2 separate regions of the Homo sapiens genome follow, and region 2 is linked to region 1. The links are contacts of gene promoters, found by promoter capture Hi-C in human tissues and cell types (Jung and others, 2019). All regions are on one chromosome and are shown on one strand. The core of a region is centred on a gene start or on the middle of the fragment in contact, and the rest is flanking DNA. Distances in the headings are between cores, read along the strand shown.

Region 1 (3,014 bases), core at 284-2,783:
AACTAGCAATCACAGGGTTACATGAGGAAGGAACCTCGAGTCTCTAGAAGATTAAAATAAGAAGATGCAGTAAAAAGGAGGCTTATAGCCATGGGACATCTCACCGATTCTCGGAAGCCATCATACTTGTAGACATGGCCATTCTTTGTAAGCAGTTTAAGTCCATGGCCCAGAGCAACACGGCGCCAGATACCTTCTGTTAACTCCCCAGCCTGGATGTTGTCCACTTTGCCTGTCTTGCTATTCTTGAAGATGATGCCCTGACGGCTCAACCTCAGTCGACCATCATTCTGTAAGAAAAGCAGGCCCAGATGCATGGAGACAGTACACAGCATGTCCTGGGTTCTACAGCTCTACCTAACACACATTCCTGCTGCAAGTGGACTGGCCAGATTATCAATGCAGGAGCAACAGCTGAGGGTGCCAAGGAGTCTAGATTCTAAACCAGACTCTGGTATCTAGAACCCTTAACAGATTCTCAGTTTCCTCATTTGTAAAACAGGAATTGGGAACTGAACAGCATATACGGTCCCTATAACTCTGAGACTATCTCTCAGTATTGCCTTGAGTTGGTGGAGACACTAGGTACACATTATACTGAGTCTTCTTTTTCCAAAATAACGTTACCAAAGCAAGCTCTCATTAATGGACAAAAACTCTACCCTCCTTCCTTCTCTCTACTTGTATCACCTGTCCAAGCCATTCTCACCATGGAACCTTTCACCTCCTGATAGACGTCGTTGAACTCCAGTGTCTCTGCCATGTCGACCCCTGCCTGTGGTGGCCTGGGCAGAGCCCCAGGCTGCACAAGGGAAACCAAGTAAACTGGGAGCTGGGCCCCAACTCCTGAGTGGGTGTGCGGATGCTCAGCAGGTTGGGAATCTGAATTCAAGAGGAAGACAGATAAGCATGAAAGACAGCACCTCGCTGTGCTCACGGATGGAGCCAGGTAGCAACTCCCAGCTGCGCCTGGATGTCTCAGGATTTCCTCTGCCTGGAAACCTACAGACGGACGCTGCAGTGCCCGAGGGTCCAGGTCCAGGCCTGGGTGGAGAACCGGGCCCGGAATACCGCTGACACCCAACCCGACGCCCGCTCTGGCCGCTCCGGCGGGAGCCATGGCAACGAGCAGCGGAACCCCAGGGTCTGCCAGGAGCCCGCACATCGCACGCGACCCAATCCAGCTCAGAGTGCAGGGTTTCCCTCGCACCGCTCCCACCACCCCGCGGCCCCAGACCCACGGTTCACCCCCGCCCCACATAATGGATTCGCCCGCTCCCCGCGGTTGCGAACGCGGAATGGTCCATGTCGAGGGTCCCGTGGGGGAGCGGGGCCCCTGCCTTCCTGGGACCGGGGACGACCACCACCTACCTCCTCAGGCTGCGGCCTCGCGAGGGCCCCGGCGCGAGAGGTGGGCGCGCTGGGGGGACGCGGGGGGGGCGCGGGGAGGGGGATGGGGGGACACCGGGGAAGCTTTTCCCGCGTGCGCGGCCCCGCGTCCCGCCACCGGAAGCCGTACACAGGCCACAGAGAGGATGAGCTGGCTAGAGAGACGCGAGTCGGGCCCGCCTGCGAGACAGTCGCATAGAGCGTCAGCGACTCTGGAGGACCTGAGGGAAGGGTGGTTGCCGTGAAGCCTCTCTCACCCAGGGGGAATCCGGCCTAGAAAATGTGTGTAGGGCTCTTTAGAAACTACAGACACTTCTTCAGTCGAGACTAGATACTAAAGAGAAATTGTGTAGTTTTATTGTATCAGACTTAGTACAGGGGTGGGGTGGGGGTGTGTATTGGAATGATGCGTGCCCGTTTCTCTGCAAAATAGTTTCTATGTCATGGAAAGGAGTCGATGGGACAAGAAGAGAAGTATTTGAACAGTTGTGGGAGGAAACGACCTCTCCCACTGGCTGCGGAGAGTATGCGGGTGTTGGTGTCATCGTGGGTGCACTGCTTTCTGGCTGAACTGTCAAGTTCACTGTCTACACCCAAAATTTTCACATCCTTAACCGAAAATTATAGGTACCTCCAAGAGGCTGGCAAACGGCCTTATCCAGTTCAAGTCCTGGTGTCAGATTCACCTTGGAGCCAGAACTGATTTGAAACCACATCATCCTGTGGTTGCGGAAGCCAGGTCTCCCCCGTATAATCCCAGAGTGCATTTTGCAACATCAGAGACCAGACCTGGAAAAGATGTTTTAGTTTTTCTACCCCAACCTCCTTTTACTGATGGGAAAACTGAGACCCAAAGGGGAGTGAGTTGCCCAGGGTCTCAGTGCGTTGGCAACAAGGCTAGGTAGGACCCAGACCTCCTTAACACCACCAGTCCAGTTATCTTCTGTCATAATCACAGTGACTGTATGTTCAGAATGACTATTGATATGTGTCCTACATGAAGACATTAGTACAGAATATGTAAGCTCAAGATTTCCCTGACAATCAATACACCAGCTTGCTAAATCAATCCTGGGGTAAGAGACAACAGGAATGCACCCTTCTCCCCTGAACTCATAGCTTTAACCTCTGAGTAGTGGCTATTCCAGCATTATCTAGCAAAATAAATTCAACTGGGTTTAATAAATAGATATTGAGGGCCTATTACTACTTTAGCACACTTCTCAGATTTGAGGAAACTTGAACAAGGTGAAAACATCCCCGGCCAGGCACGGTGGCTCACACCTGTAATCCTAGCACTTGGGGAGGCCAAGGCAGGGAGATCACTTGAGGTCAGGAGTTTGAGACCAGACTGGCCAACGTGGTGAAGCCCCGTCTCTATTAAAAATACAAAAATTAGCCAGGCGTGGTGGCGGGTGCCTATAATCCCAGCTACTCAGGAGGCTGAGGCATGAGAATTGCTTGAACCCAGGAGGCAGAGGTTGCAGTGAGCTGAGATTGTGCCACTGCACTCCAGCCCGGGTGACAGAGCGAGACTCTGTCAAAAAAAAAAAAAAAAAGAAAGAAAGAAAAAGAAAAAAAAAAGGAAGGGAAGGAAAGAAAGAAAAAAAAAAAAAACAGAAAAA
Region 2 (3,014 bases), core at 275-2,774, 200 kb before region 1:
ATTTTTTAATAATTTGCTGTAGCTTCTGTATCAGCATTTGCTACTTCACAGTGTATTTTTATGTTACGGAGATAACTTCTTTCCTTAAACCTATGAACAAATCTCTGCTAACTTCAAACTTTTCTTCTGCAGTTTCCTCACCTCTCTCAGCTTTCACAGAATGGAAGAGACTTGCTCTGGATTAGGCTTTGGCTTGAGGTAGTATTGTGTGGCTAGTTTGATCTTCTATCCAGACCACAAAAACTTCCTCCACATCAGTAATAAGGCTGTTTTGCTTCCTTATGATTCGTGTGGTCACTGGAATAGCACTTTTAACTTCCTTCAAGGACTTTTTTTTTTTTTTTTTTTTTGCATTCACAACTTGGCCAACTGTTTGGTATGACAGGCCTAGCTTTCAGCATATCTCAGCTTTTGACATTAGTGAAAGCTTTGGACATTCATGAAAGACATTAGTGAGCCTTGCTCACTAAGCTTAATCATTTCTACCTTTGATATAGAGTAAGAGACGTACAACTCTTCCTTTCACTTGAACACTTAGAGGCCCTTGCAGGGTTACTAATTGGCCTCATTTCAACTTTGTTGTGTCTCAGGGACTAGGGAGGTCCAAGGAGAGGAAGAGAGATGTTGAATGGCCAGTCAGTGGTGTAATCAAAACACTCACGACTTGTATGGATTAGTGTTGTATACGGGCATGGTTTGTGGTGCTCCAAAACAATTACAGTAATAACATCAATGATCACTGATCACAGATCACCGTAACAGATAAACAATAACGAAAAAGTTTGAAATATTGAATTACCAAAATTTGACAGAGACACACAGTAAACACATGCTGTTGAGAAAATGCCACCAATAGACTCGCTTGATGCAGGGTTACCACAATCCTTCTATTTGTAATGAAAACACAATATCTGAGAGGCATAATAAAGCGAAGCGCAATGAAAGAAGGTATACTTGTATGTCAGTAATAGCATAGAAGATGGGTTTAGATAAGTGCTGTCTTTCTGTTGTAAGATTCTTGCATTTCACAGGAAGTGATGCAATATTAGTTAAAGGTAGACTTGATAAATTAAGAATATGTATATTGCCTGGAGCAGCACTAAAAAAATACAAAAAAAATAGTTAAAAAGTCAATAGAGAAATTAAAATGGACAGCTACAAAATATTTGATTATCCCAAAGAAGGCAGGAAAGGAGGGAAAGAGGGACAAATAAACACATGATACAGAAAGCAGTCAAATACCAGTAAAGTATATTGAGAAACTGACAATATTATTAATTATTCTAAATGTAATAATATTGGGACTAAAGCCTCCAATTAGGCAGGAGAGACTTCTGGTTTGGCAAAATGAAGAGGTCAGCAAATCTTCTCCCCAAAAAGCAACTATATATACTAAAATCAAAACTGTCAAAAACAATGATTCAGAGCTCTGAAAATCAAACAGAGCCATACAGCAAATAAAGTTTGTATTCATGAAAAACTGCTAAATTTGGGATAAGAACTGCAGGAGTTTGTGGTATTCAAGCTTCAGACTGAAGCTGCTTTCATCCTCCCCATCCCCATCCAGCTTGGTCGGCAGGGTAGTTCTAGCCCAATGGGACTGGCTGTGAAAACCAGCAACTTGCTGCAGAGAGGACTCACTTGGTTTGGAATGGGAGGGAAAAAAAAATCCATATCCATCATCCCTGTCAGTAATGCTAGCAATCTTCGTGACCAGTAAACTGGGAAAGCCAACAACTCTACTAACCTGAGATTGCAGTCCTGGTGGAAGACTAACCAGAAAGTTAACAAGGAGATTCAGGAAACCAGATAGTCCTAAAGGGGCTTCACAGATCCCTGGTGCACGAGGATGCAGAGCACATGCAGAGAAGATGAAAGATGGCCTACCTGAGAGTAACGGCCAGGGCTGACCTGAAAACTTCCTGAACTTTGATAACCCACACAGATCTGATAGAAGTGTATGGAAGCCTCACTAGCTTGAGGTGTGTGGTAGGCAGAATAAAGTCCTCTCTTCCCCGCCCCCCCACAAAGATGTTCAGGTCTGATCCTATAACTTGTGACTATGTTAAGGGCATATGGGACTTTGCAGACGGGATGAAGGTTAAGGACCCTGAGATAGTTTATCTTGGATTATCCTGGTGGGCCCAATCTAGTCACAGGACTCTTTAAAAGCAGGCTTTGAAGATGGAGAACATAAGCCATAGACAAGCAAGGTTAATGCCGTCTAGAAATTGGAAAAGGCAAGGAAACTGATTCTTCCCCAGAGCCTTCAGAATGGAATGCAGCCTTAGCTGGGCACAGTGACACACCTGTAATCTCAGCACTTTGGGAGGCTGAGGTGGGTGGGTCGCTTGAGGTCAGGAGTTGGAGACTAGCCTGGCCAACATGGTGAAACTCCATCTCCACTAGAAACACAAAAATTAGCCGATATAGTGGAGGGTGCCTGTAATCCCAGCTACTTGGGAGGCTGAGGCATGAGAATCTCTTGAACCTGGGAGGCGGAAGTTGCAGTGAACCAAGATCGTGCCACTGTACTCCAGCCTAGGCAACGGAGCACGACAAGAAGAAGAAGAAGAAGGAGAAGGAGAAGGAGGAGGAGGAGGAGGAGGAGGAGGGGGAGGGGGAGGGGGAGGGGGAGGGAGAGGGAAGAGAAGGAGAAGGAGAAGAAGAAGGAAAAGGAGAAGAAAAGAAGAAGAAGAAGGAGGAGGAGGAAGAGGAAGGAGGAGGAGGAATAGGAAGGAGGAGGAGGAAAAGGAAGGAGGAGGAGGAGAAGGAGGAGGAGGAGGAGAAGGAGGAGGAGGAGGAGAACAAGGAGGAGGAGGAGGAATACAGCCTTGCCAATGCCATGATTTTAGCCCAATGATTCCCAAAGAGGACTAAAATAGTAAGTTTATTTTGTTTAGACACTAAGCTTGTGGTACATGTCAGCAATAGAAAAACTAATACAAGGTGTTTGATCACAACCTGTGACCAAACATCAGCTGACTCCTAAACTATGAAGAAAATAGAAGCAA

The links. The method cuts DNA at HindIII sites, captures the fragments that hold promoters and counts their contacts. A contact is called where the count stands out against the background at its distance.
Region 2: a fragment that was not itself captured here is called in contact with the fragment with the promoter of SSRP1 in region 1 in 2 of the 25 tissues and cell types used here (stomach and thymus).

Annotation. Positions count from the first base shown.
Region 1 is chr11:57,334,359-57,337,372 of GRCh38, forward strand. It overlaps SSRP1 (structure specific recognition protein 1), which reads right to left and starts at 1,534. Exons shown (of 17, transcript NM_003146.3): 1 at 1,372-1,534; 2 at 710-882; 3 at 105-290. The coding sequence starts at 763. It also overlaps a transcript of P2RX3 not described here. RefSeq lists enhancers at 703-772, 1,623-1,672 and a silencer at 1,273-1,452. The HindIII fragment of the contact is 12,890 bases long and covers 1-3,014 here.
Region 2 is chr11:57,134,193-57,137,206 of GRCh38, forward strand. The region is part of intron 6 of LOC105369309 (a long non-coding RNA gene); the gene reads right to left. Among named protein-coding and RNA genes, the nearest start is that of LRRC55, 46 kb to the right of the region's middle. The HindIII fragment of the contact is 4,484 bases long and covers 1-3,014 here.